Linked DNA regions of Homo sapiens: all the other regions are linked to region 7. Evidence: promoter capture Hi-C in 16 types of primary human blood cells and fetal thymus (Javierre and others, 2016). All regions are on one chromosome and are shown on one strand. Each heading gives the region's core, a stretch centred on a gene start or on the middle of the fragment in contact. The rest is flanking DNA. Distances are from core to core; before and after follow the strand shown.

Region 1 (3,096 bases), core at 364-2,863, 710 kb before region 7:
CTCTTCCTTTTGCTTCAGGCTCCACTATAGCTCAGAGCATCACTGTGCATGTATACAAAATATAGCCTGTCATCCTGAAGGACTTCCAATCCAGAATGGAAAGACAAAGTAGAGAAGAAAAATAAGTCAAATATTATAAGCAAGAGCCTTCCAATAATAAGTAAAAACACAGATGAGGGCAACATAATATCCAAAAGGTAATAACATAACTTGAAAAAACTTTGAAAATGTGCTACGGCAAAATGCTATTCTTTTTTACTATGGACAAATACATTGCTTTTACATACCAATAATATTCATAGAATAAAAATAAGTCTCTTTCTGAGGATTACTATCATAAAGTTTTCAAGAAACTTTAATTTTATTTTCATGCCCAGAGACCTCATTTACTGTACATAATGATTAAATTGTATTCTCAGTTTGTTTCACTGACATTGCCAAATGCGAGCTTAAAAATGTTACTGGAAATTAGACTTTTTTTTTCCAGTAACATATTAAAATTAACCTATGTAAGTATCTGTTTTGTGCCTCCGATAAGGTTGTTTTTATTTCCTTAGTAAAAGGTATCTATTTTTTAAAATATGCCTTTAACTAAACATATCTCAAATAATTCTACAGTGGCAGAGTTATACTCACTAAAGAAAAGGTATATATGAAAATCTCCAACCTGCTTTATTACCTAACAAATTTTGTAATAAAGAACTTTATTTCTCACTTTTAAACAGACTGGATACTGGTTTATCTCTAGGACTAGTACCTTGTCAATGTGACAAATGACAACACTCTATCAAGATAATCACAACTATCAATAGGCCTAGGAGTAACAGTTCTAATTATAAAACATATTTTTAACATGTTCATATAAATAAGCATATCTAACATAGATAATAATTTTTAAGCTAAAAATTTGCTATTATATATTAAATATATTTTCAACATACAAATATTTAGTTCATTAAACTCTTTAAAATCCTGTAATTTGGCCGGGTGCAGTGGCTCACGCCTGTAATCTCAGCACTTTGGGAGGCAGAGGCAGGTGGATCACAAGGTCAGGAGGTTGAGACCATCCTGGCTAACACAGTGAAACCCCGTCTCTACTAAAAAATACAAAATTTAGCCCAGCATGGTGGCAGGCGCCTGTAGTCCCAGCTACTCGGGAGGCTGAGGCAGGAGAAAGGCATGAACCCAGGAGGTGGAGCTTGCAGTGAGCCACGATCGCGCCACTGTGCTCCAGCCTGGGCAACAGAGTGAGACTCTGTCTCAAAAAAATAAAATAAAATCCTGTAATTTTTCCTCGATGTTAATGGAAACCAAGAAGCAATTTAATTGCTATTTCTACCAAGAAAAGCAATACTAATTTAAAAATATGTATGTGTGTCATTGTAACTTTTAAGAACGCAGTAATTCCATTAGAAGCAGCTTGGTATAATAGAAAAAAATCCACGACTGAGAGGCTAATGAATAAAAGTCCGCCACTCCCCTACCTAGGGTACACCTAACAAGTCAATTAACTACTATAGGGTACAGATCTCTCCTTCGTAAAACGGGATTTGGATAAAATAAGCAAAAAGTTCCTCTGAGGTGCCTCAAGGTAAAAGTGGAAGAGCTCAGAGATTTCAAACTCCACACACTCATTCCCTTCTTTTGAGGCAGAGCCTCACTCTGTCACCCAGGCTGGAGTGCAGTGGCATGATCTCAGCTCACTGCAACCTCCGCCTCCCAGGTACAAACCATTCTCCTGCCTCAGCTTCCTGAGTAGCTGGGACTACAGGCACACACCACCACACCTGCCTAATTTTTCTATTTTTAGTAGAGACAGGGTTTCACCATGTTGGCCAGGTTGGTCTCAAACTCCTGGCCTGAAGTGATCTACCACTTCGGCCTCCCAAAGTGCTGGGATTACAGGCAGGAGCCACTGCACTCAGCCTCATTCCCGTCTTAAACAAAGCACTTCATTATTTGTTTTTAGATACTGGGTATTAAAAACTTTAAGCAAATTAAATTTAGCAGAGTTTATCTGAGCAAAGGACAACTCACGAATCTGACAACACTAATAACCAAAAGAGGTTCAGCAAGCTCAGCTTCAGAGCATGAGCAGAGGGTTTCAACAGGCTGAACTTGGAAGCAAAGCAATTACTTGATCAGCCATAGCTAGCTAGGCATTTGCCTTATTTGATCATGATCCAGTAAAAGGTCCCAAGTTAGAGGTCAGTTGGTGATTTCTAACTGATAATGTCTCTAGTTAGACTTAAGTTTGATGTCACTGTTTTCATTGAATTGGGTTTGGGTTTGCTTATGTAGGAACCCCAGGACATGCAGCTTTATACAAGATTTCTTCAATTAAAGGTTTAGCTGCTTTCTAAAAAAAAAGTTCTGAAACTTCTAGATTAGACATTCTCCAAGTTCTAAGGGGAACATAAAATGATTTCATATATTTTTTTAAAATTATAGTCACTTGGAAGATTCTTAACATTATCTAGTTGACAGTCAGAAGGTTTTTTTGTTTGTTTTAATAGTCCTGGCTTTGAAGAGAACTGGAAGGAGAGAAATTACCTCCAAAATCTGCTACTATAGGTAGCAGATAGTAGACAGGAATAGTAGACAGGAATGGGAAGAGCTGGGATAAGCTGAGCTGCGATAAACACTGCAGCAAAGAGAAATCAACATGACAAGACTCAATCTTATACAGCAGGTATAGGGCAAATACTAGTTTATATGCCAATGAGAGATGCCATAATACATGTTTATTTGCATACCTTGATGGGATTATATAACCAATCAACTATTCGCCAAGTGTCTATGTGCAAACTAGTTAACTTTTTAAAATGCTAGACCTATTGTGGTATAAGTGTAATCCGTCTTTGTCCCAGGTTCACGGCACAAGGCTCCTAAAATGCTTAAAATTTCTGAGTGATAGGACTGTTTTTTGTCATTCATTAAAGGTCCCTTTTGACTACACCAGAGTTTATGCCAATGAAGTGACCTGGAGTGGAGCCTATATAGCATAAACTCAGGAGGGGGCTGGTGACTAGAATGACCAAGTGATTAGAGAGCTGGAATTTTCAACTCTTCTTACTGACCTCCAGAAAGGAGAAT
Region 2 (3,178 bases), core at 108-2,607, 700 kb after region 7:
GAGGGTATTGACAGAGTCATTTATTTCTTTACAAGGAATGTGGAAAATAAGGTTTCATTAAATTATTTAAATTCTGCTACTTATATACTTTTTGCATACCCATTTAATATTTCTGTTGTCATGTATAACAGATATAGCTTTAATTTTAAAAACAAGAGCAATTTTGGGATAAACTTTAAGCCTCTTGCTTATCTCAGATGATTTGTGAGTTTCCTTAAGTTCTCAGTTTCTGTACACTTGTACACTGCACTTGAAATTATTTTTTAAAATTCTTCTTCTTTTTTTTTTTGAGATGGAGTCTCACTCTGTCGCCCAGGCTGGAGTGCAGTGGCATGATCTTGGCTTACAGCAACCTCCGCTTCTTGGGTTCAAGTGATTCTCATGACTCAGCCTCCTGAGTAGCTGGGACTACAGGCATGCACCACCACACCCAGCTAATTTTTGTATTTTTAGTAGAGATGGGGTTTCACCATGTTGGCCAGGCTGGTCTTGAACTCCTGACCTCGGGTGATCTACCCACCTTGGCCTCCCAAAGTGCTGGAATTATAGGCGTGAGCCACCATGCCTGGTCTACACTTGAAATTTTAAGGAAATAATACTCTAATTCCATATGCTTTTTGATTTGGATAAAAGCTAGCAAATTTAAAAATGTATTTTTAATCTACATTTACTGAAAATGATCATGGGATAAGACTGAAGATACTAAAATGTATTATTTTGTTCTCTGTATAGATGTTATTAGAAACATTGTTTTTATTTTATTGACTCTTTCTCATTGTTTCTTTACATACTCGATTGATCTTTTCTATAATTCAAATTTAAGATTCAGATAATTGTGCATGAGAAGCATTAAAGGAGAAAAGCAAAATGATCCACACATAAAAGCCAACTTTGAAAGGTAGAAAGATAGACTTTACTTCGTTAAAATGTAAAATAGGGCAACTGAGAAATTTGCTAGATAAATGTCCAAGGATTAAAATCCCAGATGCACAGGGAGCCATTCAAATTTCATAAGAGGCTGGGTGTGGTGGCTCATGCCTGTAATCCCAGCACTTTGGGCAGCCGAGGTGGGCAGATCACGAGGTCAGGAGATCGAGACCATCCTGACCAACATGGTGAAACCCTGTCTCTACTAAAAATACAAAAATTAGCTGGGCATGGTGACACATGCCTGTAGTCCCAGCTACTCGGGAGGCTGAGGCAGGAGAATCGCTTGAACCTGGGAGGCGGAGGTTGCAGCGGGCCGAGATTGTGCCACTGCACTCCAGCCTGGTGACAGAGCGAGACTCTGTCTCAAAAAAAAAAAAAAAAAAACACTTAAGAAAATGAATAACAGCAGCACCATTAGAAAAATAGAGGAAGAAAATGAACAGGTAATATACCAAAAAAAAAAAAAAAAGTCTAAATAACAGTGTAGTTGAAATATTCATCCTGCATCTACTCTTTTCACATATAGGTATGATGGAGTGTATATAACTAGATTCCAGGAGGAATTTGGACCTCTGGAACTAAAGTATCGTTTGTCGCTGTATTAGTTTGTTTTCATGCTGCTGATAAAGACATACCTGAGATTTGGCAATTTACAAAAGAAAGAGGTTTAATTGGACTTAGTACGGTTCCGCATGGCTAGGGAAGTTCTCACAATCATGGCAGAGGGCTAAAGCCACTTCTTACATGGCGGCGACAAGAGAGAATGAGGAAGAAGCAAAAGCAGAAACCCTTGATAAACCCATCAGATCTCATGAGACTTATTCACTGTCATGAGAATAGCACAGGAAAGACTGGCCCCTGTGATTCAGTTACCTCCCCCTGGGTCCCTCCTACAACATGTGGGAATTCTGGGAGATACAATTCAAGTTGAGATTTGGGTGGTGACACAGCCAGACCATATCAGTCTCTAAAAGACTGAGCCATAAAATTGAGTATAAATCCGAGACTATTTATATTAAAATTTGACTCCTGAATGTACATTACTTCTGTATTCATTAGGTCAATATGAAGTATGGTCATATGTTTGAAACAACTTCCTGTAATCTTTTCATCAAAGGTGAAAATAAGATTCCTAGCCTTTCTTAATAACTCTCAAACAATATATTGGTAAATTTGAATGTAGTTTATGAAAATATGTTTAGCTTTACTGGTAGTTCAAGGAATAAAAATTAATAGCATCTACCTCATTATTGAGGGAATTATATAAGTTATTAGATGTAAGGCACTTAGTGCTTGGCATAGTAATACCTACTGTTAGGTATTACTATTATTAAATTTAAATACTCTTATTTTCACTCATTGAATTCACAAGAACTAAAAATAATTATTAACACTTAGCATGGTGCCAGATATTATGCATGCTTAATAAATGTTTTTTTATATTAGTTTTCATGAGAGCATGCTTAATAAATATTTATTGAGTTATTCTTATAATAATCAATGTAGTTTCCCTAGCTGCAAGAAGCAAACCCAGTGAATATAACTACAGGTGAGTTGCTGGTAGTTTTAGTCTGGAGGACATTGGCAAGTGATATGTTGCTTTCCTGAGAGAAAATGGGAGTTCCACTCGAAGTGATGATAATGGAATTTATTTATTTCCCCTGGTACAGTTAGTGATCACAGGTAAATTTAATTACAGTTCAAATTACCTAGTTTTAACTAAGCAAACCATCTCAAAATGATCACATATCCTGCAAAAATTGCTAAGAGGAAATTGCCGATTCAATATAGTTGTCAAGATACAAATGCAAGCAAATAATATAAAACCGTCAGAAGTGTTTCTTTTTATATTCCTGGCATAAACATCTCTTTAACACTTATTTTTAAATTTATTTTACCTCATCCTTTTTAGGTTCAATTGTTATGTATTTTGTAATATATTACTTTATTATAAAAATATACATAATACATTTAGTTAAATGTACATATAGTACCTTTTGATTTAATCGAAGGGTTACCACTTCCACATTTGTTAGAGAATGTCCTAGTCTGGGCATGTTTTCTTATGTTCTAGGAAACCTCTCAGTCTCAGGCAAACTAGGATTTTTGGTCACTCTACAATTTTTTTTTTTTTTTTTTTTTTTTACTGATAGGGATGCATCATAATAATAATAAACTACAGAGAATACTGTTTAAACTATCTCTTCACCATTTCTCCCAAGAGGTAGAAAACTGGCCCAACTATTAT
Region 3 (3,017 bases), core at 297-2,796, 760 kb after region 7:
CTCCATTTTATTCTTTGTTCTAGATGAAGAATACTGCTTGTTAAAAATATTTTCATCAGCCTACTCTGGCAAAACCAAAACTCATAAAGGTTTGGGAAATGAGTAAAGGAAATAAATGTATATGTCATGGTGGTATTAGAGAAGAGGGAGATGCATTAGTTTTCTATTGTTGCTCTAAAAATTTATTTAAACTTAGTGGTTTAAAACAACATAAATTTATTATTTTATAGTTCTGGAGGTCAGAAGTACAACATTAGTCTTAAGGGGCTAAAATCGAGCTGTCAACAGGGCAGGTTCTTTCTGGAAGCGCCATAGGAAAATCCATTCCTTGCCTCTTCTGCCTTCAGGAGGCTGCTCATGACCTCTTCCTCCATCTTCAGAACCAGAATGCCTAGCATCTTCACCTCTCTCTGACCTATGCTTCCATCCTTACATCTTCTCTGTCTCACTCTGTTCTTCTTGCTTCCCTCTTACAAGGATTCTGGTGGTTACACTGAGCCCACCAAAGAATCCAGGATAATCTCCCCATCTTAAAATTCTTAATTCAAACACATCTGAAGTCCTTTTTGCCATGTAAGGTGGTATATTTACAGGGTCTGAGGATTAAGAGATGGCCTTCTTTGGGGGCCCATTATTCATACTAACACAGGTCATAATGTAATTGCCCTATAAAAAGTTGATATTGGTAAAAGCACTAGAAGTGATTAACCTTATGATTTCTTTCCAGGTAGACTTGTTAGGTAATTTGTATGACTTATTTAAAATTAGAGTAAGAATTACCATTTAACATTTACTCTACCTTTTTCAAAGTATACTGCATGATAAACACAGGAACTCAAATGGATTTAGAGGTTAAAGGAGTTGCTGCCACTTCTAGGAGCCAAATTCAGCCATTCTTTGGAAGAAAGAAGCCTCTACAAGTATGTGAGCTCTATATAATTTTCTTCTTTCAGGATGACTTATAAATAATTTTTTTACCTTTTCTTCATGTTTTATGACTACTTATATTCACAGATATTTAGGATCAACATTTCCTAGATTTGAAGAATGGAACCACCAAAATTGAAGATAATGATTACTTGAAAAATTGCCACTGCTTGAATTAGTTTTATTTTTTAAAATTAAACTTATTGTATTATTATTGTTATTTAAGAATATTTGTTTAAGGAAAATATAAAAAAAGAAAAATAGTAGAATGGAATTTTTACGGTTGCTACTAATATCACAAAAAAAGCACAAGTCAGATAACATTTCAGAAATAGGGTATAAGTGCTGATGGGTGAATTATTTTCTATTTTCATTAACTTGAAGTTTTCCTAAGACTCATATATATCTTCTATTTCATGGTGGCTAAGCTTGCTGTAATTTTTATGACTTGCAGTTTTTTTGGCAATAAGATTGAATGTTTACAAACACATACATGTTTGTTACTTTCTTTGTCAAACCCTTCACTGTCTTCCCATTACCTTAAAAACAAGGTCTAAGTTCCCTAACTTGTACTATAATGTAACAGCTTGGCCCTACCCCCCCTCACACTCTGGATTTTACCCCTTTCCAAATGCTAACTCTTATCTGGAGGCCTGTGCAGTACAAGTTGTTTCCTAGCTGAACCAATTTTCTTTCTTCTCTTTTCATCTAGCTAACTCCTCCTCATCTTTCAGAACTCCTGTTAAAGGTTGCCTTAAGAAAAAAACAAAACAAACAAACAAAAAAACAAACAAAAAAAAACAAGCTTCCTAAATTCCCTAGAGTAGGTTGGGCATACTGCTATGTAGTTGCTCTGTTATAGACTTTTTTTTCCCATTATTGTTTATTTGAGAGAAAGTCTTCTCCAGCAGAGTGCTATGTGGTTAGGGATTATCTGTCTTACTTGCCTTTTTATCTGTGTCTCAAGCACAGTAGGAAGGGGCTTAATAAGTATTTATTATATAGAATTTACTGAGAAAAATTATAATTAGCTTTATTGCATTGACTTATTGTGTATCTCTTAAAGTATAAAGGGTATATTCATATTTATACTGATTCAAAAAGTTTTTTTTTTAATTAAAGCAAAGGTGGACTTCTGAGTCATGGACAAACCAGAATTCTTGCCCACCAGTGTAAGTTACGTTTCTTCACATTTGGACTGTTTAATGGGCACATATATAACATACATTGACTAGTTAAAAAACAAAGCAAAATTATAAATGTAGCTATGATTGTGAACCACAGAAAAATCTATATGCATATGGATAGCCTGAAAATTACTATACCAAAATTAAAATAGCTGTTGTGATAAGATGGTAGAATTATAGGTAATACTTCTTTGGTTTTTTATTTTCCTTAATATGTTTTACATTTTCCTGAAAAAGTGAAAATATTTGTTTATTTGGAAAATTCAGCTATATGCATTCATTAAAGAGATGTGTAAATTTTTATCCTTGTATAATTCATTTAGTTGGCATCAATTTAAGGATAATTATGTCTGTGCTTTAATTTTGAGGAGTATGACAATTTTATGAATCTTAAAATTATTTTATTTTTGGTTTAGAGTATATTAATTTATGTTTTATGTTGCATGTTATTTTGACTTTTAAAATTTGGAATAATATAATTTTTATATTCTTTCAAGTATTTTAGATTACAGAGCTTTTTTAAAAATAGAAATTAAAAACTTAGTAATTTACTAAGCTGAACCACACAATATTGACATTTCTGAAGATCAAAATGAATAAACATCAACATTTATGTGGTTCTGTGTGATAGATTACCTGTATGCTCATCTTGACATAAAGAATAGAGTTAGGTGCAAGCACTAGATCCAAGATATCGAGTAAGTAACAATGGCTGTGTCAGTTGTGTGCAGAGAAAAGTTTAAGGACTGATTTTCTGAAGGTGTATTATAAGTTTATTGTAAATTTTACTTGTTTATTATAAAGAAATTTGAGCATATATTAAGTTGATTATAGCTTTTACTGATATAAAGGATGTGTAGCAATCAATTTACAAATATTAATCAAATACATAGTCTCTCTCTC
Region 4 (3,191 bases), core at 285-2,784, 980 kb before region 7:
TTTCTGTAAAGTGTGATTAATCTTGGGATGTGAAACCCCAAAAGGGTAAAAGACTATTCACAGGTTTGAGAAGTGGTGGAGATTTTTGCAGAGAGGAATGTCAGACATAATCTGTATATACATCCTTCTGAGCACAGCCTTTGTTACTCACTCTTCTGTTACAGCTCCACCCTGCTCATCAGATTCCTCATTTACAGCCTCAACTCCTTCCAAAAACCAGTGACATTGCCACAAACCAGCGAGATGCAGCCCCTTTAAACCTCTGTGCCTACTCTGGAGGGCAGCACACCTGTCCGGCTCTTCCTGTCCTCATTGATGGGACGTGAGGATCCATTTCTGAAATCACTGAGTCAGAAGCATCCAAAAGAATCAATGAAAGAAGAGTACAACTAGCAAGATGCTAAGGAACAACACACTAAGCACTTAAAAAATACTTGATACCCAAGGGCCAATTCCAGATCAAGTAAATTAGAAATCTCTAGGTGTGGGGTTCAGCTGCTGGTATTTTTTTAAATCTCCCCCAGATGACTATAAAGAATAGACAAGGTTGAGAACTACAAGATTAGCACAATACAGAAATGTAGGGAGAGCTGCCATGTAGGTAACACTATACTGTTTCAAAGTCAATGATGTCTCAGGCAGAAATTATTGAGGTAGAGTCATAGGATACTCCAATTGGCACAAAACCTGGTGCGGTAGTTTTAAAATATGTTGAAGAGAAAAACAAACAACCCCATCAAAAAGTGGGCAAAGGATATGAACAGACACTTCTCAAAAGAAGACATTTATGCAGCCAACAGACATATGAAAAAATGCTCCTCATCACTGGTCATTAGATAAATGCAAATAAAAACCATAATGAGATACCATCTCATGCCAGTTAGAATGGTGATCATTAAAAAGTCAGGAAACAACAGATGCTGGTGAGGATGTGGAGAAATAGGAATGCTTTTACACTGTTGGTGGGAGTGTAAATTAGTTCAACCATTGTAGAAGACAGTGTGGCAATTCCTCAAGGATCTAGAACCAGAAATACCATTTGACCCAGCAATCCCATTACTGGGGTATATACCCAAAGGATTATAAATCATTCTACTATGGAGACACATGAAGAGGTTTATTGCAGCACTGTTCACAATAGCAGAGACTTGGAACCAACCCAAATACCCATCAGTGATAGACTGGATAAAGAAAATGTGGCACTTATACACCTTGGAATACTATGGAGCCATAAAAAAGGATGAGTTCATGTCCTTTGCCAGGACATGGATGAAGCTGGCAATCATCATTCTCAGCAAACTAATACAAGAACAGAAAACCAAACACCACATGTTCTCACTAACGAATGGGAGTTGAACAATGAAAACACATGGACACAGGGAGGGGAACATCACATGCCAGGGCCTGTCATGGGGTAGGGGGCAAGGGGAGGGGTAGGGGTAGCAAGGGGAGGGGTAGCTTTAGGAGAAATAGCTAATGTAGATGACCGGTTGATGGGTGCAGCAAACCACCATGCCATGGCACGTGTATACCTATGTAACAAACCTGCATGTTCTGCACATGTATCCCAGAACTTATTTTTATATATATATATATATATATATATATACACACACACACACACACACACACACACACACATATATATATATATATAGAGAGAGAGAGAGAGAGAGAAATATGGCCCCAAATTCTTTGACACTTCTCCCATTGAGAGTGAGGTATATGTCTTCTCCCCTTGAATGTGGATGGATTTTTGACTGTTTCCTCCCAAAAACTGTAGTGGAATTGATGCTATCAGTTCTTAGGCTACGTCACAAAAGGTGATACTATTTCCACTTTGCTACATGACACATTCATTTTGGATCCCAGGAGCCACCCTGGAAGAAGTCCAACTACCTTGAGCTACCAGGATATCTAGACCAGGCCATATGGAGAGGTCACATGTCGAGACTCTTCTTGATACTCCAGCCTAGTTCCCAGCCAACATCAGTGTCAACTGAATTACCGAGAGATTAACAGGTTATGTATGCATTCTGGGACTTAAAAACATCAATATAAATAAGTGTGTTGGAATAATGTCTCTGAATTTGTCCATCAAACATTTATTTTTCAGTTTTCCTCCAAATCTAAGATAACTCTTATAATCAATGAAATTATAAGTGCCTGAAGTGATGTATCCAACTGAGTTTTTTTTGTAACTTGAATAGAAATTACATTTGTATCAAAATAGAAAAAGTACTTTTACTCTAAAAATGTTAGGAAAAGCCCTGTACCGTGAAACTGTCTAACCTCAAAGAAACGATCATTAGTATTTTGAAATATCAGAGAAATGAATGGACTTTAATAATTTGAATGTTGGTCTAGAAGGCTGAATGGTGGGCCCCAAAAAGGTGTATCCATGTCCTAATCCCCAGAACCCATGAAGGAATGTTACTCTGGAAAGAGGATCTTCCCAGATGCAATTAAATTGAAGATCTCAAGATGAGATCATCCTGGACTATCCAGGTGGGACCTAAATTCATTGACAGGTGTCCTCATAGGAGACACACAGGAGAGACTTAACAGACAAAAGAGAAAGCAACGTAACTATGGAGGTAGAAATTGGAGTGAGGCTGCCACGTGTCAAGGACTGTTAACAGCCACCAGAAACTGGAAGAGGAAAAGGACAAGAGCCCCAGAGGGAGTGTGGCCCTGGGAATACCTTAACTTTCCAGAACTGTGAGAGACTAAATCTCTGTCCTTATAAGCCAGTTGTAATTTGTTACAACAGCCATAGAAAATGAATACTGTTGGGAAAAGTATTTCCTTATCTAAACTTCTGCTTCCACATATGTGCAAAATTTAATAAGTTGCAATTTTTTATTGTTTAAACTTCTCATTAGGTTTCTACCTACAAAAGAGATTTCAGTTCAAAATGTTATTCCTATAAAAAATGTCAGATTTTTATTACTATTTTCTTTTGTTTAATGTTTTGCATACTTTTCTCTTTTCAATGTATGACCTAGCAGTGATTTTTTTTTTTTTAGGCCGTATTTACCAGCAATCTAGAGTACGAAGTGAAGGACTTGATTGAGCATTCTGAATTCTGCTGAGAGTTCATTTAAAATATATGTATTTGAGGCCGGGCACGGTGTCTCACACCTGTAATCCCAGCACTTTGGGAGGCCAAGGCAGGCAGGCAGATCACC
Region 5 (2,747 bases), core at 100-2,599, 690 kb after region 7:
AAAAATAAAAATAAAAAAATAAAAAACGTTCTCATTCTTTTTTTTCCCCACAGGTGTATGGTATTCTTTTATGTGGGTGAACCACACTTACTTTAGTTAACCCTCAGTGCTGGAGATTAGAGTATCTTTCCAATAATTTGTTAATATTAAATGATGGTACAGTGAATAACCGTTTAGGGATACCATTTCCTTCTTGTATAGTATGTCCTTAGGATAGATACCAGAAATGGGACCAGAGAGCCAAAGAGTAAATACATCTGTAATGTAGTAGGTATTGCCAGATTCTTCTCTACAAGGACTATATCATTTTGCTTTCACACCAGTAGTACATGGAGTAGGCATGGTCTTTGACTTTGACACAAAATCCAGAAGCAATTTTAAAAAACTGATTAGTCAGCTACACAAAAATGTTAAAAAGTCTGAATAGCAAAAAATACATATGTAGATTTAAAAAACTGACAAACTGGGAACATAATTACAACTCATACCAAAGACGAAGGGCTCATTTCCCAAATAAATAATGGGAGAAAAAAAGGCAAAAAAACTAATAGAAAAATAATCATTAAAGGATACTAACAGATCCTTATTCACATGAAAGGATACACAGCTTTGCTTATAATAAGAGAAATAAAAATCACAGATCATATTTTACCTATCAGGCTAGTAAAACTCCAAAGTTCAACAATAGTTTTGTTGTCTTGTCTGTGGGGAATTGTTGACTAGTTGGAATTTATATTGATGTATGGATGAAGCAATATTACCTTTTTCAAATGACTACCCAGATTGATCAACACCAATTTATTAAAAAGTCTATCTATAGCTCACAGATTTGAGATGCTACTTTTATCATATGCTAAACACTCATATATTTGGGTTATTTCTGAACTCTATATCTTTCAATGGTATATCTTTTAACATACTAATACTGTATTATTTTACTTAGTGAGGCTTTATTATATGCTATAAAATCTAATATGTTCAATAACCCTCATTTTTCAAAATATCCTGGCTATGCTTATTTATTTTTAAAACAACCTGAATGTCCATCAATAAAGGAATAGGTAAAAAAGGTAGTACATTTAAGGGATAAATAGCATAGCAAATAAAACTGAATTAACTAGATTTATATCAACAAATAAATCTCAAATGTATAGTTTTGAATGAAAAACCAAGTAACATGATAAATTCCACATAATGCCACTTATAGAAATATAAGACGGAAACCTCCAAACATTGTGTTTTTGGTCTAGATAATCACATATATATTCAAAACCTTAAAAAATGTATTAGAATGATTCATATCAAACTCATAAAGGTTATTTTCTCTGGGGATGGAGAAAGGGAACATAACTGAAGTGGCTGTTAGAAAATGTTAACATTGACTGCACTGTTCTTTCTTTTTTTAAAAAAGGAGGAAGATTTATTTGTAATATTAAATTAAAAATTGATATTACATATAAAACTACAGCCCATTATCTGGTACATGAGAGGAGTCTAAGTCTTGAGCCTTCTCCTAGTACTACCATGTCAGGTTAGAATTAGGAATCACTCAGCCCCAGAACAGCTCAGAAAAAGAAGGGAGGGATTCTGTGCTCCTAGCATCCAAGAATGTAAGAAAGTTGAAGCAACAAAGAGGACGAAGCTAAGACACAATCTTCTAATATTACAAACCCATAAAAATGGGAATAAAATGTTTAGTTTAAATCCTATGAAATTGCTTGCGTTTTCTAGGTCAAAAATGGTTGAAGAGCAATTCATATAATTCAATCTTTATATGATAAAAGTTTTTTTTTTTTTTTTTTTTTTTGAGATGGAGTCTCATTCTATCGCCCAGGCTGGAGTACAGTGGTGCGATCTCAGCTCACTGCAACCTCTGCTTCCCGGGTTCAAGCGATTCTCCTGCCTCAGCCTTCGGAGTAGCTAGGATTACAGGCGCCTGCCACAACGCTCGGCAATTTTTGTATTGTTAGTAGGGACAGGGTTTCACCATGTTGGCCAGGCTGGTCAGAACTCCTAACCTCAAGTGATCTGCCCGCCTTGGCCTCCCGAAGTGTTGGGATTACAGGCGTGAGCCACCGCTCCCGGCATTTTTTTTTTTTTTTTTTTAAATCCACAGCTGAGCTCAAAGGAAGGAAAGGTAATACTCAGGTGCCAGAAATGAAGAGAAAAGTTAAAAGTCCGAGTGGTGAACTCATGTGCCTAATCGGAGGAGAGGAAATATCAGATTAGATATAAATGCCAACAATATAGGAAGAAGATGTAGCCATAGAACCATCTAAGACAAGTTCTGGGACTGAAATATTTGCGGAAAAATCAGGATGCCGACTTCTTCCTAAATGAAGCAGACCACCAAACCCTTCCTAGAAGTCTGAGGAAGTGACAGAAAGTCAGATGGAAAAAAGTCATGTCATGTGAGAAATCAGTTCTAGATCTATCCTATGCCTACAAGTGGACACTATACTTACATTGCCTATATATGCTGAGAATACCCAAACAAATTTTAAATATCAAAACTTAACACATTATAAATATAAAAAATATAAATGTAAAACTGACTGTAACAGGGGAGTAAGGCAAAAGCTAATAAAAATTAGTCTGTAGCAATATTTATTTTTCCACTATTTGGACAATATGGGACTCTTTCACACACACACAATCTCTGCTGAAAATAAGCATAGGATAGAAAATTATAAACATGACAGAGGCTCAGTAGCTAAAACAAGAGAACTGGCACCCAAAGAAACTAA
Region 6 (3,026 bases), core at 104-2,603, 790 kb before region 7:
GTAATTAGACAAAGTTGTGCACTTGGTTGAATATATGTGGGAAAAGGCTATCAGTGAAAGTCTGTTTCAGGAGAGAGCTGGCTCACACCTGAAGAGCGTTTCCTAGACCTTGCCTGGAGGCCAGCTTTCTTCTCTGTGCAGATGTTCACAGGTTTCCTCAAGGCACCTTACCCTGACTGCCAGCATGCCATCCCTTGGGTTCTGTTGGGTGGGGATCCCCAGACACCTCTGGATCTTTGATTACCTAGGTGGGGTTTCTGACTTTTTATATCATGGCACTCCTGTGAGGCCTCCAGACCCCTTCTCAAAATGACGTAACATAAAGTATGTGGTACCAAGTTCCCCAACCCCCAGAATTAAAAGGAATTGTGGCCTTTGGGTTAAGAATCCTGAATTAAGGGAATATTTCTCAGTCTGGATAGTGGAGAAGCTGGGCACAATTTCTTTTTTTTATATTTTTTCCTTTTCAAATTCCTTTTTACCACAGGCACAATTTCTGATTGTTAAAAATTTTATTGTTGTAAGTCACAGAGGAAGAACTAATAGAAGTACATGGTGAATGATCTGGAAAGGATATCAGGTTCCTTGTTTTTTTGTTTACAATCTTATTGTGCCAACAATACTATTGTCTTCGACTAATAAGAACAGACACCATGTAATACATTAGGGCCAAATTACTTCCCAGTTCACTATAGGAAAGAGGGCTTCATGGTGGTTTCACAGTACTTCCAAAAGAAAATAAGCAGAGAGAATTGAATCCTCATCCAGCACACGGCAGTGCAGGAACTACTCAGCTTAAGAAGAACCTATGCCATAGCCATGGAGGTCGGTACTACATCTGTATTGCTACCAGGGGTTTAGTTTAGCAAAACATCAGTGAAATAATTTTGAATTGGAATTTTATTGGTATTCATTTTTAAGTTGAATTGATAATTTTATTTTGGTTTCACAGTTATGAGTCATTTAATAGCTCTATGCCTCAGTTTCCCCACTCATAAAATGAGAATAGTGGTAGTGCTTACTTTAGTTGTTATGAGGATTAAATGAGGTAATATAAACATAAGTAAAGCATATATTAAGCTTTATAGAAGTATTTGTAATTATTACCTGTCATGTGGCAGACACTATTCTAGGTGTTTTGCATATATTGTTTAATCTAAAAACTGCCTTATTGTATAAATAAGCATTGTCCCCATTTTTAAAATGAGAAAACTAGCAGATCAAATGAACAACCTGTGATCATTTGGCAAATAAACAAGAGTCTCAGCATATATATCTAGGTCTGATTCCATGAAAAAATCGTGCAAATATTAAATTGTTTGAATAATTAAATAACTTGTAGTTTTGCACAGATTGTGGATTGCTATGGCAGATGTTGGGGATCAGGGTTACTGAGCTTATAGCATAGTTGCATTTTAATTACAATATGGGATTTGGCAGATAGTGATTCAAATCTGTGTCGAATTTTGCTGCACTCTAAGTTGAAGACACGAGTGGTAGCAGAATACAGAAGTAGTAAGAATGGTGAGGCTGAGGTACACACAGGAGTGTTCACTAGATTAGAAGAGAGTTTTCCTTCAGTGGGGTTAGATTTAGGTTAGCAGAGAGGGGTAATAAAAAGCTTTTTGGTTGAAAGTAGCAGTTTGGGTGTGAGAGTGGTGCACAGAGACCACTTACTGACCGCTAGTTGGATGGAGAGGAAGGTGTGTAATTTGTGTGTGTAATTTGGTAACTCAAGGATTGAGAATTCTCAGGTCATTTGAATAGTCTCAACCCTTAATGTTCTGTGCCTGTCAGATATGGGAGTTTTGAGGAAAGCTTGTGGTTCTGGAATCAAAACATGAGCCTGATTTGTTTCTTTGGAGATCTGTGACCTCAGCAAGTCACCCAACTCATCAGTCCCCATCCTTTTTGGCACCAGGGACCAGTTTTGTGGAAGACAGTTTTTTCATGGATGGTGGGTGGATGGTTTTGGCATGAAATTTTGGGATGAAACTGTTCCATCTCAGATCACCAGGCATTAGATTCTCGTAACGAGTGGGCACCTAGATCCCTCACCTACACAATTCACAATAGCGTTCCCGCTCCTATGAGAATCTAATGCCTCTGCCGATCTGACAGGAAGCAGAGCTCAGGTGGTAATGCTCGCTTACCCTCCACTCACCTCCTGCTGTGCAGCCTGGTTCCTAGCAGGCCACAGACCAGTAGCAAGTAGCCTGAACACAAAACACAGCCATCGGTCTGTGGCCTGGGGGTTGGAACCCTTGACCTAACGGACTGAACTTGGTATATTCAGGCCCCGAGTGCTCCTAAAGGAAAAGGAAGCCCGCCCATTTGTGGAGTACAGGCTCTTTGCCAGGTACTTTACAAACTTTATCTCATTAAATCTTTACAACCGCCTATAAGATAGTTCTCATCCATTTCCAAGTTACCTCTGAGGAAGTTAAGGCTCAGAGGTTAAGGAAATTTGGCCAGGATCACATAGCTGATAACTAGCTTTGACAACCAGCTTGTGTCTATCTGATTCTAAGCTCCGCACTGTTTCTTTTATATCTGGCATGTCTAAAAGGTGGCATGTGTACTGCGGTATTTCCATGGCAAAAATAATTAATCACAGTTCTCTTGATTGTAGAACCTGGACTGAATTTCAGAATCTTTCTCAACGTAGTTCCAGGAATCCACTCTCAGTGGATCTGCAAGATGAAACTGTTTTGTCATGCCTGTGAAAGTAAATGGTGCAGACCTTCAAAAGCCCTTTTTGCATGCCTCTGTGTCATTTATTATATTGCTATTGTTTGTCCACATGTTTTTACCACCTCAGTAGAACTCTGTGCAAAACGGGCCTTTCCTTATGACCCATTTATCCTCAGCCCCCTAACCCAGTACCTGGCTTATGAAATACTGTTGAATTAATACATTTATATGAGAGCTTCATAAACAGTAAAGCATTATGCAGTGCTTATAAGCTGCCTCTACCCTAGAAAAATTACTTGAGATACAGAAATGAAGTTAGCTGGATGGAACGG
Region 7 (2,913 bases), core at 338-2,837:
TTGATGCTATTATGCTCCTTGTATCATTACATCATTGTTGAGAAGGGTGTACAGGAATAGGCTATGAGAACAACAAAGGAATTGTATATGAAAAACTAAAATGAATGAATAAACAGAGTCGTCTGCAGTATAGAGTGGGAAGGCAAATAATTTCAATGAGGTTCTGGAGGGCCAAGGAAAACATTGTATCCCCTAAAACGGAAGATAAAGTTGCTAAATGTGTGGATTACAATAGGGGATTCTAGGCAGTTTGAAGTTTCAATAAATGCAAGATTTAGAGAAGAGGTTCTCAAACTTTGTGGTCTTAGGATTCCTTTACACTCCTTTAAAAGTTGAGGACCCCAAAGAACTTTTATGTGCATTACTGATACTGATATTTATATCAGAAATTAAAAGTGAGAAATTTTAAGAGTATTTCATTTAAAAACAATAAAGCAATCAAATATTAACAAAAAATAATTTTTATATGAAAAATAACTACTCCCCCTTGCCCCCAAATCGAGTTTTTGCAAATCTCTTTAACGTCTGGTTTAACCGCAGATGACTGGATTCTCCTATCTGCTTCTATTTTCAGTCTGTTTCCTTATCACATGTCACGTAGCCTCCGGAAAACCCCACTGTACACTTGTGAGAGAATGAGAATGCAAAAGGCAGTCTTGACATTAATATGGAAATAGTTTTGACCTTCCCCATGAAAGGGTCTGGGGACCCTCAGACCATACTCTGAGAACAACTTTTTGAGTTAGTATTAGTCAATTCATCATCACTTGAAAATTAGCTATGAGGTTTTACAAGCCTGAGGATTTAATGTGATTTACTTTTTCAGAAAGATGAAACAACGGACGTACTGAGTGTCCTCATTATAACGCATCCAGAGAATGCACAAATATGCCATTTTCATCCGTCAAAAGAACTGAAGCCGAACTGACGGACTGTACATCAGTTACGAGGATGTGGCGGGGGGTTGGGGGGCAAAGGATGACGAGCACCCCCTAAAGGCGCGGAGACCCGCTGGCATAGGAGAAGCAAAACTGTCAGAAGAGGCCGCCGAAGTGGTCTAGAGGAAAAAACTGTTTTTCTTAGGCGGGGAAGGAAAACGGTTACCGGGGGCCGGCGAGTTGCAGGAATTAGGCCTTGACAGGGAGCGTCCGCCGTCTAGGCTGCGGCGAGCGAGGGACCAGGCGACTGGCGCCAGCCCTGAGCGTTCCCAGCACAACGCCGAAGGGGGCGGGGCGGGCCGGGCGCCGGGCACGCGGGCCAGGCCTTCCCCACAACTGATGGGGTTGAAATTTCCTTTCCGGCTCAGCAGGGAGAAAAGATATGGTGGGGTGCTTAACAGAGGAGGTTAGACACCGGCGGGAACCAGAGGAGCCCAAGCGCGGCGCCTGGGCCTCGGGGCTGCAGGAGTCCTCGGTGGGGGTATGGAGGTCGCCGGGGAAGGAGGACGGTTCAGTTGCTAGGCAACCCGGCCTGGACCCGCCTCTCGCTCGCGTTGCTGGGAGACTACAAGGCCGGGAGGAGGGCGGCGAAAGGGCCCTACGTGCTGACGCTAATTGTATATGAGCGCGAGCGGCGGGCTCTTGGGTCTTTTTTAGCGCCATCTGCTCGCGGCGCCGCCTCCTGCTCCTCCCGCTGCTGCTGCCGCTGCCGCCCTGAGTCACTGCCTGCGCAGCTCCGGCCGCCTGGCTCCCCATACTAGTCGCCGGTAACGGATGGGGGCCTGGAAGGGAAGGGGGAACGTGGTGTTGGCTGGGCGGCCTGCGCAGATGGGAGGGCCGGAGGGATGGAGGGACTGGGAGCCGGGAGTCGGGGCCGCTGGCCGCCCGTGGCCTCCGGGGTCGTCCTGTGAGGTCGGACAGGACCGCGGAGTCCGGACCCCGGAGCCTGAGAGGGGCCCCGGGGCCGACCAGCGCTTTTATCGGGGACGGCTGAGGCGACGTAGGGGTTGGCGCGGCCTGGAGGCCTAAGGTTCTCTGAGCTCCACCGTCTTTTCCGCGTGGACCGGAGCGAGGCCGCGGTGACGCCCGGGTGCCCTGAGACTCGGCTGCGCCGCGAGGACCGGGAGGCCCCCGGCGTACGGGCCGGGCCGAGTGCAGAGCCGGCCGCCTCTTGGACACCCCCCTGCTTTTCCCTCAAAAATAATACCAGGAGGGAGGCCGCTGGGAGATGAAAAGAACGGCGGAGGCTGCGAATTCCGACGGGAGGGAGGGGCTGTGGAGGGACGAGTCCCCGAGGCGGGGAGGGGGCGGGGGAGGCTGCGACGCTCCCGGGCTCTCCGCCCATTGGGGGCGGCCGCGCGGGGAGGGGAAACCCCCGGCGGCTTCGCTCCACACGTGGTAATGGGCTTCATGGCCACTGGCTGGGCCTGGTTGGAGACCCTTGCCCTCGGTCTGTGCTTACTTTGAAAGTTGTAGAGACGGTGGAATGTGAAAAGGAAGGGTAAGCGAGTAAGCCCTGTCCCTGGGTTTCAAACTCTTCCCTGCTTCTCTTTGGTCTTAATCTTTTTATTGGTACCAGAGATTGTGGATGTTAGCTGATGATAAGGAAGGGCCTCCACTGCTAGTATTTTAAAAAGTTAACGCGTATATAGCGCTTATATTAACTGTTATTAGCAAAAGGTTGTTATTGTGTTTCCCAGGTACTGTTAGATGGGTGTCTTGATCAGGGTTTTTTATTTGGGGAGTATTGATCCTGATCGATCTAAACCCCTAAACCAAGCTTGTCCAACCCGCGGCCCAGGACGGCTTTAAATGTGGCCCAACACAAATTCATGAGGTTTTTTTTTTTTTTTTTTTTTTGGAAAAAAAAGCTCATCAGCTAGTTAATGTATTTTACGTGTGGCCCAAGACAGTTCTAGTGTGGCCCAGGGAAGCCAAAAGATCGGACCACCCCTGCAAACGGTTCTTAGATGAA

The links. Contacts are between HindIII fragments. The CHiCAGO score rates a contact against its expected background, and 5 or more counts as called.
Region 1: a fragment that was not itself captured here is called in contact with the fragment with the promoter of NAP1L1 in region 7 in 3 of 17 cell types (total B cells, naive B cells and naive CD8 T cells); the score reaches 6.4 in total B cells.
Region 2: a fragment that was not itself captured here is called in contact with the fragment with the promoter of NAP1L1 in region 7 in 4 of 17 cell types (naive B cells, total B cells, activated CD4 T cells and 1 more); the score reaches 6.9 in naive B cells.
Region 3: a contact is called between a fragment that was not itself captured here and the fragment with the promoter of NAP1L1 in region 7, in 1 of 17 cell types (total CD8 T cells). The highest score is 6.7, in total CD8 T cells.
Region 4: a contact is called between a fragment that was not itself captured here and the fragment with the promoter of NAP1L1 in region 7, in 1 of 17 cell types (fetal thymus). The highest score is 5.5, in fetal thymus.
Region 5: a contact is called between a fragment that was not itself captured here and the fragment with the promoter of NAP1L1 in region 7, in 3 of 17 cell types (naive CD8 T cells, naive CD4 T cells and non-activated CD4 T cells). The highest score is 5.7, in naive CD8 T cells.
Region 6: a contact is called between a fragment that was not itself captured here and the fragment with the promoter of NAP1L1 in region 7, in 1 of 17 cell types (total B cells). The highest score is 7.5, in total B cells.

What each region holds. Positions count from the first base shown.
Region 1 is chr12:76,792,070-76,795,165 of GRCh38, reverse strand. All of the region lies in intron 1 of ZDHHC17 (zDHHC palmitoyltransferase 17), which reads right to left. Among named protein-coding and RNA genes, the nearest start is that of ZDHHC17, 30 kb to the right of the region's middle. The HindIII fragment of the contact is 6,806 bases long and covers 1-3,096 here.
Region 2 is chr12:75,379,751-75,382,928 of GRCh38, reverse strand. It overlaps a transcript of CAPS2 not described here. Among named protein-coding and RNA genes, the nearest start is that of GLIPR1L2, 9.7 kb to the left of the region's middle. The HindIII fragment of the contact is 5,361 bases long and covers 1-3,178 here.
Region 3 is chr12:75,324,321-75,327,337 of GRCh38, reverse strand. CAPS2 (calcyphosine 2) reads left to right here. Exons shown (of 17, transcript NM_001355024.4): 2 at 811-920; 3 at 2,050-2,099. The coding sequence starts at 840. Among named protein-coding and RNA genes, the nearest start is that of CAPS2, 4.5 kb to the left of the region's middle. The HindIII fragment of the contact is 377 bases long and covers 1,358-1,734 here.
Region 4 is chr12:77,067,208-77,070,398 of GRCh38, reverse strand. No RefSeq gene overlaps it. Among named protein-coding and RNA genes, the nearest start is that of E2F7, 3.2 kb to the right of the region's middle. The HindIII fragment of the contact is 5,115 bases long and covers 1-3,191 here.
Region 5 is chr12:75,397,389-75,400,135 of GRCh38, reverse strand. All of the region lies in intron 1 of GLIPR1L2 (GLIPR1 like 2), which reads right to left. Among named protein-coding and RNA genes, the nearest start is that of GLIPR1L2, 7.7 kb to the right of the region's middle. The HindIII fragment of the contact is 8,872 bases long and covers 1-2,747 here.
Region 6 is chr12:76,873,836-76,876,861 of GRCh38, reverse strand. All of the region lies in intron 1 of CSRP2 (cysteine and glycine rich protein 2), which reads left to right. Among named protein-coding and RNA genes, the nearest start is that of CSRP2, 3.7 kb to the left of the region's middle. RefSeq lists an enhancer at 1,918-2,419. The HindIII fragment of the contact is 541 bases long and covers 1,083-1,623 here.
Region 7 is chr12:76,083,359-76,086,271 of GRCh38, reverse strand. It overlaps NAP1L1 (nucleosome assembly protein 1 like 1), which reads left to right and starts at 1,587. Exons shown (of 15, transcript NM_004537.7): 1 at 1,587-1,705. It overlaps LOC124902970 (a long non-coding RNA gene), which reads right to left and starts at 1,187. Exons shown (of 2, transcript XR_007063379.1): 1 at 1,105-1,187; 2 at 1-61. RefSeq lists silencers at 1,153-1,312, 1,753-1,832, 1,973-2,022, 2,093-2,152, 2,203-2,272 and an enhancer at 1,316-1,857. The HindIII fragment of the contact is 5,148 bases long and covers 1-2,720 here.